2 separate regions of the Homo sapiens genome follow, and region 2 is linked to region 1. The links are contacts of gene promoters, found by promoter capture Hi-C in human tissues and cell types (Jung and others, 2019). All regions are on one chromosome and are shown on one strand. The core of a region is centred on a gene start or on the middle of the fragment in contact, and the rest is flanking DNA. Distances in the headings are between cores, read along the strand shown. Region 1 holds the start of KCNIP4 (potassium voltage-gated channel interacting protein 4). Region 2 overlaps KCNIP4 (potassium voltage-gated channel interacting protein 4).

The links. Contacts are between HindIII fragments. The study calls those that stand out against the background at their distance.
Region 2: a contact is called between a fragment that was not itself captured here and the fragment with the promoter of KCNIP4 in region 1, in 1 of the 25 tissues and cell types used here (H1 embryonic stem cells).

Annotation. Positions count from the first base shown.
Region 1 is chr4:21,944,502-21,950,202 of GRCh38, reverse strand. It overlaps KCNIP4 (potassium voltage-gated channel interacting protein 4), which reads left to right and starts at 1,431. Exons shown (of 9, transcript NM_025221.6): 1 at 1,431-1,632. The coding sequence starts at 1,572. RefSeq lists enhancers at 483-983, 984-1,484. The HindIII fragment of the contact is 8,414 bases long and covers 1-3,215 here.
Region 2 is chr4:21,800,951-21,807,488 of GRCh38, reverse strand. The region is part of intron 1 of KCNIP4 (potassium voltage-gated channel interacting protein 4); the gene reads left to right. Among named protein-coding and RNA genes, the nearest start is that of KCNIP4-IT1, 49 kb to the left of the region's middle. The HindIII fragment of the contact is 3,771 bases long and covers 2,010-5,780 here.

The DNA of each region.
Region 1 (5,701 bases), core at 182-2,681:
ATAATGTAGGTACCAGTTATAGCTGATATTTGTACCAGGCCACAGGATTATGAAGTAGTGGAACTAGGATTTGAACCCAGACAATGGGGTGTCAGCATCTGTCTCCTTAACAATGAACTAAAAGAGTAAAAGGCTCTCAAGAAATATACAAATACATGCTACAAGGGCTCAAAGGACTAAGTAAATCGCTCGTGCGTTTGGGGGTGGGGAGAAGGGCAATAAGGTGTCAATTGAGACCTACTTGGAGAAAGGGGGAAGATTTCACTTGGTGACAGTGTGTATAAATAATCCAGCAGCCATAGGGAAGGCAAATAGTTTCACAAACACTTAGAAATGGCTTCCACCCAAGTCATGGCCAACTGACCTTGCAGCTGAGAGTGAGAGGGAATTTTAATTCAGTTTGCCTGGAGAACGGGTCAACTTGACCTTTCTTCTGAAAAGAGAGGCTTCATGCACTTGACTCTTGGGGACACAGAAATCTGCATTTTAATTTTGACTTCTCAAACAGTAACCATGGCCACAAGTGGTCTATTGGTTTCTCTTTACCTTCCCAACTATTCCCGGCCTTACTGTGCTTTAGAAGGGCAAATGACCTTGCGGGTGGTGAGCGATACCTCCTGGTTGACCTGCCTGGGAGATCTCAAATGAAACCCCCCACATGGATGCTTCTCCAAAATGCCACCAGTCTATGCCACCCCCTCTCTCCAAGGTGGTATTCTGCACCTCGGCCCTGCGATGTTCACCTGGAGTCTAGAGCCAGTGTTTCCCCACACTTAGCCGAGTCGCATGACCGGTTCTAGCTTCAATGGGGGAAAGTTTCCCGTCTAGGAGTTCTGGCGCTCTGCCCGGCTCCGGAGAAGGGCATCTCCTTGCGCTTCCTCTCTGGTGTCCTTCGAACTCAGCCTAACTTTGTGCAGCAGTATTTCCAGTCTAGCTGTCCAAGTTGGAGCCCCTGGGGGACGCAGCGGCGCGTTGAGAAGGCGCGGCGCCTTCGAGCCCCTCCCCAGAGCAGGCGCTGCTCGCAGTGACAAGGGGTCCTAGAGGCGCCCGCTGAGAGCCGCTGGCAACTCCCGGGGGTGTCCTGCCCAGCCCGAAGTCACCTCGGGTCTCTTTCGGGTCCATCTACTCTGTCGCCAGAGGCACCGTGCCACCCGCGGCGCTTTCCTCTCCCCGCACCCCGCCCCCCGCATCCCCAGTCCGGTGACTTGGCAGCAGGTGGCAGGGGCGGCGCTCACGAGGGCGAGGGGCTGGGGTCCCCGCACTCGAGCCGCCCGTGCAGCCCGCCCGCTTCCAGCCGCCGGCGCGAAGCTGCCGGCGCCTCGGCCTCCCCCGCCACCCCGCGCGCCCCCGCCGCCAAGGGCCGCGCAGCGCCCCCGGCGCCCCCCGCCGGCCTCCGCCCGCACCTGCAGCCCGCTCCGCGCGCCCTGCCCGCAGCCGCCGCCGAAGCTCTCGCTCCCAGCGCCACGGACGCCCCCGGGCCGAGCGGCGGTGCGCTCCCGTGCAGACCCGTGGACAGACGCCCCTGGCCGGTGGACTCTCGAGTCTCGCTTCTGCACCCTGCGTCCCTAGACATGAATGTGAGGAGGGTGGAAAGCATTTCGGCTCAGCTGGAGGAGGCCAGCTCTACAGGCGGTAGGATGCAATAAGCTTGCGAGCGGGCGCCCGCTTCCGCCCTCCTTCCCTCGCGAGCCAAGACGGCTGCCCCTTCCCTTCCTCGGCTGGGGACGCTTGTTGCCTTCGCTGCATGAGACACAGTCACCTGGCGGGACTGGGAAGGGGAGGTGGGAGCGGCAGGAATGGGGTGCAAAGGAGAGGGGGGTGCATGCAAGATCCAGGTCGGGGAAGAAAAGATGTTTGAAGTGTGTTTGAAACTCGCCGGTGGCAGGGTCCCCTGCGATCCTGTGCGTACTTTTGCCTTCTCTGAAAATTTCCGAGGTTGTTTATGCATCTGCCAGATGACTCCAGACCGCACGCTTCCTTCCCCTAACACCTGGGGATTAATGAGCTGAAATAGTATTGATCCTCGCCTTCCACTTTTCCTTCATGCCCCCACACGTTTCTTCATTACAACTGTATTTTTGTCCCCTGGTAATATACTGGCGGCATCTTGCCCATGTCAGATTCTAAAGCAGGAGCGTATGGCTTGTTTTATGGCTAGCTTCAGTTTAGTGTGTTCAGAGAAAATGGTCCTCAGTGACACTTGCAAATAATTTATATACAGTACAGCCTTGTTAAGGTATCGGGCACTGTGTTAGGAGCTTGGCTTTCAGAGAAACGTGCGTTCTGCGAAAGCAGGGAGAAATGTTTTGCTGTTTGGTGGGATCCATAGAGAAATAGGAGACGATGCCCTTCCACAAAGCGTCTTGGGTTGCATCGATTTGTTATTAGGTGGTTTTGATGTGTACAGAGTATTTTACAGGAGCCGGAAAGAGAATGGAAGTGATTTTGGGGCACATGAGAGTGATAAAGGGCTGGACCTCTCCCTGATTACATAAGCTAAGGGGTCACATATGGCTATAGCATAGTTTGGGTTTAGAGGGTGAAAAACTTGGACTCGAGGGCTGTAAACTTGCAAGCAAAGAGGTGTTTCCACTTGCTGCCTTCTTTAGTACTCAGGGAAATGGAGTCACCTCAACAACTTGAGTCAATCATTCGAATTTATGGCCATGAGAAATGGAAATGGACACCCTCCCTTTCTTTTCCTCACTCCAATAGTTAAGGTCATCGTAACCGGGAGGACACTAGTCTCACTTGAATATGAAATTTTAAAGAGAACAGTCTTAATCCTTTTGGACTGGAAAAAATAATATGAACATCACCTGTAAAGCCCCACATTTGACTTGTAACTGTGTTTAGTTCTGTTTTCACTTATGCCTGGAGATGCCCACTCATTACGAGCCAAGCATAAGTAGATTATCTCTTGTGAGAAATGCTTACAATCTTTAAGAGATCAAATGTTTCCTGAGTGGCGTGTTTAATGTAGAGGGCTGAGTAGTTTTGGGGTGTTGAGTTGAGTTCGTAGGGTCTCTGTCTTTGCAGTTCTTTAGAATAAACAGGGTAGAGGGCTAGCGCTGTCCTATTAGAGACACATTCACACACGGCAGCCCAGGGAACTCAAGGCTGGAGCAGATGGCAGGAATGTCGTCTCAGGATCTGGATGGCTTGCATTGCTTGGCTCCTCAGTGACCACAGCTCTTTGACTGTACCTGTTCTTCCATCAACCGGATGGGGATTGAATCAGCATGTCTAGACTATGCACAGGGTCATGGGTGGCCATAATCACTATAAATGGGAAATGAAGATGAAGTCACACCTGGGGAGTACTATACATTTAAAAAAGCAAACCTTTTACTGCTATCTCCAGAATCAGCATGTGTTCACTGTTTATTTAGAGAACAGAAATATGTTGTTTTATACCTTGGCTAAGGTGAGACCAAAGTGATGAGTTTTCTGGCTGAGAATTGATTTGACACCTGTTTCTTGAATTGTATTCACAAATTTTTAGTTAGTTGTCATATGATGAGAAGAATAAAGAAAAAAATAGTTTGGATTATCTTTTTTATTCTTGTTGATATTGCTTCAAAGCTAATATTAGAGAATGATCCCCAAATATGTAATACTATTTTCACCAAACATATGCATAAGTACTTTGCTTACTTGTGATCAGATATAGGATGGTCTTTACTAATCCTGGGATGAGAAGGGATGATTTTTAAAGGCTTAAACTCTGTCTTCCATTTTTGTTTTAAAATAATAGTCCCGATCTCTTGTTCTCTTTCCAATAAGTAGGCTATTTATATAACTCCCAAACTATCTTGTACTATGATACAGTTTTTCCTTGAATATATATCTCTGGAATGGAGGTTTATAAGATGATTTAGCTGGAATCTAAGCAAAATTTAACTGGAAGATCTAACTGAGAGAAATGTAGGTGGATGATAGAGAAATCAAGAATTAGAGAAGTGTGAGTCTGTGTGCGTACGTGTATGTATTTTATGACCTGACTTAGAGATAGAACACTGTGAAAAATGGTTTGCTGAAAGGCAAAGGATGAAACTACATGAATGGAAAGTAGAGAGGAAATGTTGGAAATGACAGAACAGAGTCGAGTTGCAATTCTGAAACTTTATAATAATTTAGTTTAAAAAGTTCGTTCCGTACTCTCTTCTCAACAAGTAAACGCATCTAGTATGCTAACTGATGAACACCACCTGTAAATCACTGTAATTGACATTGTTAATGCCAGAGAGGACAGAAAATGGGTGAGTTGTGCATAAGTACATACAAGTAGAGAAGGTTTCTTACAAATTAGAGTGCTCACTTTTGCCCTGCCAGCTTCCATGTTAAACCCAAAGCCTGACCAAAATACATTTTTCATTTCATTGTCTAATCCCATATTTTGCACTCCTGCTATAAAATCAGAACGTAATCCTGCTAACAGTGGAGAGACTGAGGGAGATGATAATTCAACTATGTTTGAAAGAGAATCAGAAACAAGGTCAGAGGAAAAAAAAAACTACAAAATTATTCATTGGTGTCCTTAATTTGTGCCATCTAACTTAGAGATGGCAGATGTTATGTGATGTAATCTACAACTAAAAATGAGGAAAATGTATGTTTCAATAGTAGAGTAAAAAAATGTCTTCAATTTTGAATTGCCATTTGATGGATGTATCGTGGCTTTGGCTTAAGTTTCATGTGTTTTAAAAATAAGGCAAACTCAAATTAGTAATTCCACAAGGGTAATATTGAAAAATCCATTTATTCTGAATCCATGAAAAGCTTTTCATCATACAATCATTATTTTATTTTCTTTATGTCATATAAATGTAAGAGGTGTACTAAACAAATGATAGGACAAAGTGTTGAAATTCAGCCACCCTCTCTCCCCAGGCCTGAAGCTTATGCCCTCTCATAAAATAAAGCTGTGGATGGTTTGGAAATTAATGAGCCATGCAATATAAAATCTGTGTGCAAGATTTCTGGAGAATTGTAGGCCAGGTAGTGGTTGATTGTTTTGAAGATATATTTCTGGGCTTAAATTATTAAGCCCTTCTTACTATTTTTTGTCCTTTTATTTATTTTTCGTGTTCTCACTTTTTCCAGAACATGTGAATAATATTGCTTTTCAATAATACATAACAGAATGTGTTTTTTTACTTAATAGCCTCTCTTCTTAGCGACTATTTCAAGTAGATTAACGTGTGAGGCAGGGAGGGGGTTGTGGGGAGATGAGTATTTTGTTTGTTCAAGGATCCTTTGCAAGTCTGAAAAATCTTTCAAAATTATATAACTGCACCCATTATTATAAATTAATTTACCCTTGGGCATTGAAGCACCCATTTCATTCCAAAAGTATTCATTTGGTTAAAGGTCCTGAGGGACTTTTCTCAATTCGTGTCGTCCTGAACTCACTGGGATGTTTCATGCTGTTTACCAACATGTGTTGGAAGACTGTGAGCTCTGTGAGAGCAGAAGTATTCTGTCCTGTCCACCACTTTATCCCCAGTATTGAGCATGAAGTCTGACTTGTAATATTTGCTCAACAACAGATATTGAATGAATGAAGCCTTTCCCACTTGCACTGAATTATTCTCCTTTCTCTGATTTCTCTCAGATCTCTCTTTTTTTTTTTTTTTTTTTTTTGAGACGGAGTCTCATTCTGTTGCCCAGGGTGGAGTGCAGTGGCGTGACCTTGGCT
Region 2 (6,538 bases), core at 2,646-5,145, 150 kb after region 1:
TTGATATGCATGGCAAGCTGCCCTAGATTGAGTGACCCCTCATCCTTCTTATAGATTCACAGATTAGATGGCCATGTATTAACACGCATGCCATCAGGTAGCTGGCCTTCATGGAGATGTGTAAATTACCAGATGCAGGACAGAATTGGACTTTTAATGCAGGGGTCCCCAACCCTCAGGCCATGGACGAGTCGCAGTCTGTGGTCTGTTAGGAATCAGGCAGCACAGCAGGAGATGAGTGTCAGTGAGCAAGCGAAGCTTTGTCTGTATTTACAGCTGCTCCTCATTGCTTGCATTACCTCCTGAGCACCACCTTCTGTCAGATTAGTGGCAGCATTAAATTCTCATAGACACATGAACCCTAGTGTGAACTGTGCATGTGAAGGGCTCTAGGTTGCATGCTCCTTATGAGAATCTAATGCCTGATGATCTGTCACTGTCTCTCATCACCTCAAGGTGGGACCATCTAGTTGCAGGAAAACAAGCTCAGGGCTCCCACTGATTCTACATTATGGTGAGTGGTATGATTGTTTCATCGTATAGTATAATGTAATAATAATAGAAATAAAGTGCAATAAATATAATGTGCTTGAATCATCCCACAACTATCCCATCCAACCCTCCTTGTCTGTAGAAAAACTGTATTCCACTAAACCGATCCCTGGTGCTGAAAAGGTTGGGAACTGCTCTTTTAATGTCTATAGATTCCTATTCATCTTCATGGAAAAATACTTTAGCCATGCATATTTGATACTTCTCATATGTTTTCCCTTTCAACTTCTGATTTGTTTTTTTAAAAAAATAATTACTTGTTTAATGTCTAACCCAACAGGTCATGAACTTTGAGAAGTTAATAGTGTGCATTTATGCACAGTTGTATTTCAGTGCTGAATACAGTGCCTGAAATGTGACAGGTAGTCTACATATTTATTGAAAGAGTATAACTAAAATATTAATCAGTCATCTCCCTCTTTTGCATAGGTTGTAACAAGATTCTTCTATATAAAAGTAATTTTTGCTGGCCTTGGTGACAAATTTTTAGTACAATTTTCTCACACTTTTTTACTTCTGAGTACACAAGTAACATTAATGTAATAACTACAGGTCACTGTTGAAATAATTCAAATAAATACAGAATTGTAAACGGCAAGATGGAAAGACATAGATCTTCTTTTCAGGCAAGTAGTAACTAAATACTATATGGGGTGCTATATTGTACTGAATAACACCCTGTGATGCTACATGACACAATGTATGTATTTTATTGTCCCACCTTAACTTTTGTGGGACTGTACCTTAAAAAACATTGACCTGAAGCCTCTAATGCAGCTTCGTTTGGAAGAGGTCCAGAGTATATAATGTTTTGGTAACATTTAAGCATATGAAAGGCAGAAAAAACCCTTAACTACCATGCTGTTTTATTAGTGTCACTTGTCTCCTATTTTATATGTCAGAAGAAAACCAGGATACAATTGATGTGTCCATCTAAACAGAAAATTCCTAAAGGAAAAGCAGCTCCATTTGTAACCTACATTCTTGACACATTCATTTCATCATGCCTAATTCTTAACACCACTACTATGAGTTACTGAGTTGCTTAATATGTGCCACACCTGTATCATGCCCTGCCAAGCACAGGGCCTTTGGATATGAAGTCCACAGTCTGGATGGTTCAAGTGTTCAAGTGAGATGAACTTGCTTACTGGCCAGGGCTCAGGAAGGGTGTAGCTGGAAGGGTGAGATTTTCCACTCCCATTTTGCTTGATAAATCTTCCATAGAGGGGAAAATTCATGGAGGCAGAGAGTATAGAGATATTACAGATGAAGGTGTTTTAAAGAGTGAGACTGCAGGATATTTGGTAAACAGCCTCGGGTTCCTGTTAGGTGGACATACAGGTATTAGTCCATTTTCATGCTGCTGATAAAGATATACCCGAGACTGGGAAGAAAAATGTTTAATGGACTCACAGTTCCACACGGCTGGGGAGGCCTCACAATCATGGCAGAGGATGAAAGGCACTTCTTACATGGTGGTGGCAAGAGAGAATGAAAGCAGAAACCCCTTATAAAACCATCAGATCTCGTGGTGCTCTGGTAGTGCACCAGAGCAGTCTGGGGGAAACAGCCCCCATGATTCAACTATCTCTCACCAGGTCCCTCCCTCAACACATGGGAATTATGGAGAGTACAAGTCAAGATGAGATTTGGGTGGAGACACAGAGCCCAACCATATCAATACATCTAGATGGAGTTCCACCAACTTTTGTTTGGTAATAGCTTTATTGAGGTATAATTTACATACCATGAAGTCCACCCATTGCAAATGTAATATCCAGTGATTCTGTATAGATTTCTAGAGTAGTGCAACCATTACCACATGTGGATGTTCAAAAGGCTGTATGTCCTTCTGCCTTCTCAGCCCTCTGTTCTGCAATGAGAGTGAACTCTCACAGTGAGATCCTAATCTCTACCTCTTAAACCAGTGAAGGAATATTTTTAATTTGTGGTCTTTTTCTTCTCCATTGAATTGTAGTCATTTCTCTGTTGTCAGGTAAACATTATAAATTTGTTCTTAGCTTTGTATAAATTTGTTCTTAGCGTTCTAACATTTCAGGTTTCAATATATTGTTTGTTAGTGAGTGGAATGGCAGTGGAATGTGACAGAATGAAATTGTATGTTTAGGAATGTAAGTGCCTGTGTGGAGGGAGATAATAAAGTTTTCATTAAGTCACAAAATTCTATAACTTAGTTTTCCTTTTATATTTATGATAACATATCTATAGGCTGTTATATGAATATTCAAGTAAATTTTGAATATCTTAGAATTATAGGTTTTTAAAGTGGCAGTGGTTTAAAGTCATTTTCTGGTCTAATTTGAGCAGGTGAAATGTTATCCCCCAAACATGAAGCAGCTGATGCTAAGAGTGGCTAAATTTATTCATTCAGGTTTTCATCAATTATTTGATGAATGACTTCTACAACCAAGTCACAGGATTATTTATTAGTGAGGAAAAAGAAAAAGTGAAATTTCTGTGGTCAACTGAGCTGGCTTGGTTGTAACTGCTAATTCAGTGTTTGTTCATCAAATATATAATTTCACAGAATATCTACATCACACAAGGTCACTGTATGATCATGATGGAGTGAGACAAAAACAAGACCACTCTATAATCATGTCTGATCACAAACAAAACAAGAACACAACCCAAGCCATGAAAATGACCATGTGTGCTCAGCTAACATGACTGCTGTTTCTTTACCATCATTTTAGCCTTGCATTGTCCTTCTTGCCTTCTAAATGAAAACTACTAAGATACCCAGTCATAGAATTGGCCTTGCTTTTCAGCATTCAACAGAAAAATCCAATTCACAGTCCCCAGTTGAGAGGAAAATTAGATTTGTCTGAATCTTCCACAAAATCTTCTAACACAAAGCCAAATCTTGTACCAAGCCCCTCTTAATAACCTCTACTGAGACCTTTCCTTCATGGTTCCACGTGGTTGCTTTCTCCCTTGTTGCAATGAGCCTGGCTTTGTTTGACTGCTGATCTATTCCCCGTGATCTTTGCCTGGAGATCAAGTACTTTATGTTTGGAGGTAAAATGGATATAAAGAGACTTTGTCTCAGTTCTCATGGAGCTTTTATTCTGTTCAGAGAGACAGACATAAGTAAGATAATTTGCTAATTAGTAGAAAATTGCCAATGAAATCAGTGCTCTGGAGACAGGAATTGCCTGTTTGTATAACAGGGGTCTGGAAGCTTCACTGGGGAAGTGTCTATTGAACTGAGAGGTAAGAAGGACAGACAAGGGGAAAGGTGGGAAGGGCAAAGGGAAAGGACCTGAGACAGCAGATAGGGTAGCATTTTGGAGACATTGAGAGAAGACCAGTAGCAATAGAGGGCAGGGTAATGGTGGGGGTTGGGCAGGTGAGGTCCAGTGTTAGAGGCTGAATGTTGAAAATTGTGATCTTTTTTTCAAAGAGCTGAAAGAAAGCCATTGAAACATTTAGGGAAGGTAATGGTGTTATCACATCACAGTGCATTGTACAAAGATTTTTGGATGTTGTGTGAAGAACATATTGGGGAGGATCCACGTTGGATGTGGGAAGACTGGCCCAGAGGGTTGTTTAGATGAGAAGTGATAAAAGCTTGGGTGACAACAGAGGAAGTAAGAATGGAGAGTTGTAGACTCTTCTTGGATATATTTTATAGCTAAAATAAATAAGACTGTATAATGGATTAGGATCAAGGAAGTGGGAGATAGAGGGAGGTGTTCTGGCTTGGGCAACTCAAGAGATGTCGTGACATTTACCGGCTTGATGCATGGCACGTTTACTACCTTTACTAACGTCAAAAACCTGCTATATACTGGAACTAAAATTCACTTTGTCTGTCTTCTGGAGCAGGCCTTCATCCCTTTACTTTTAACCTTTGTGTCAAAAATGAAGTACTAGGGAAGACATGGAACTGGGAGAATTTCAGGAAGGTTGGTTCAGGAATTGATATAAGGAAATTTTGAAATATACCATCCTGTTGTGATAATTGGCCATTTTAAAGCCCCTTTAAAAAAATTCCAGGATCAGTAATTTTAAAGCTGACTCTATCAGTTGAATAGGAAGGCTGTTTTCTGGGAATGAAAGTTGGGGTGCAATTTTTGAGAGAGAATGTGGTTTAGGAAATGTGATGATATGTATGATATCTTTTTTAGATGTTATTGGAACCGTGTCTTTATTTTTGTGCTTTTTTATTAATAGGTCAGCCTTCCATTCATCCACTCAACCATTATTTTCCTTCAAAAGCATGTTCAGAGAGTGATTAATTCCCATGTCTGTTGCTAGAAGCTGAAGATAAACAACAATGAGTAATTGTTGTACAATGTAGAGAATGCCAGTCCAGGAGTCAGGAAACCTGATGTTAGCCCCAGATCTGTTTCTATTATGATGTACATTTCTTTAAATAATTTATTATTTTTTGGCCTTTGTTTTCTTATCTGCAATATGGAAATAAAAAATACATATCCTGATTACCTTAGAGGCACAAACCTTTATTTAGGAAAACAAAAACAAAAACTATGCTCCCCAAACTGCAAAGCAACATAAGGGAGGCAGAGAGACGATGAGTTTTGGTTCCTTGTAAAGCGAGGATAATATTACTACAGGCCTAAGGTTTTCAGGATTAGTAAATGAGATAAGACATGTAAGGTCTATCAAATACTAAATATCCTAGTGAAAAACTCTATTCATACTAAATATTAAAACACTAAAAACTGAAATGTTCACTTGTTGTTGGAGAAAGTCAGATTTTAACATTCCTGGCATAGTGGTCAAATACTGTGGTTTTGATTTGTAAGACAGGCAACAGTCTGCACTTCAGTCTCAGTAGCCTGGGGTTAAGAAAAATTAGAATAATATTAATATTAATTCCCATTCTCATTAAACATTCTTTCTCCCATGAAGAACTTCAGGACCTTAGCCCCTTCTGTGCCCTACCCTATGCACCCCACCTAAAATTATTCTTTTTTAAAAAAAAAATTCCCTGAATTCTGTTTGTGTTCTCTATCCCTTTCCTACTATTTTTTTTTCTTGATGACTTCTCTCTGTATAGCTCTTAAGAAGGGTGTTTTATTATGGCACTGTCTAAGAGGCCACTGCTTCTCAGCCTGGTATCTACATCCTGGTGCTGTGCAGCTATAAAAAAATAAAAATCCTTCAGTTAGCCAGGCATGGTGGCACGCGCTGGTAGTCCCAGCTACTTGGGAGGCTGAGAAAGGAGAATTGCTTGAACCCGGGAGGTGGAGGTTGCAGTGAGCTGAGATTGTGCCACTGCACTCCAGCCGGGGTGACAGAGCGAGACTCCATCTCAAAAAATAATAATAATAATAATAAAATAAATAAGTAAAATTCTTCATGTGTCATTTACCACCATTTTCCAAGCAGTGTTCTGGGCAGATATGAGGAATAATGCCTCCGCCTGCCTCCACAACTTGGTGATGTATGTCATGACTTGTGTGTCCCAAATTGGTATTGTTTTAATACCAAATCCATGGCACAATTTCTATAATCACCAATCTAACTCCCTTTCCCTTCTTTCTCTTGCCAGGAACAAAGCCACTCTTTTGGCAACTAGAGGTTGGTCACTGGTTTTACATGACCAGTGATTTTTAAATTCAACGGGGTCTTGTCTACTGCAGCACATTTATCAATCTATTTTAGAGCTTTATTTTTATTCCTTGACGATTTTAACATAAATTTAAAAAGATTACGTGTCAAATACCTTCTATTGCTTATGTAATGATAAAAGTGCTTTGGACATGAAGCTATGAAAACTGGTGTTAGAATATGTTCTCTCTCACACACTAGTTAAATCATCCGAGGGAACACATTTAAAAGTCTCTGAACCTTAGTTTCCTGTAAAATGGACATAAAACCTCCCTGATTTTTCTGAGAAGATGTCCTCAAAAAATCTTGCACAGTGCCTTGCAAAGTTTCTGACTCGGAGAATGAATGTAATGAAAGTGTTGGCCCCAGTTTGACTAAA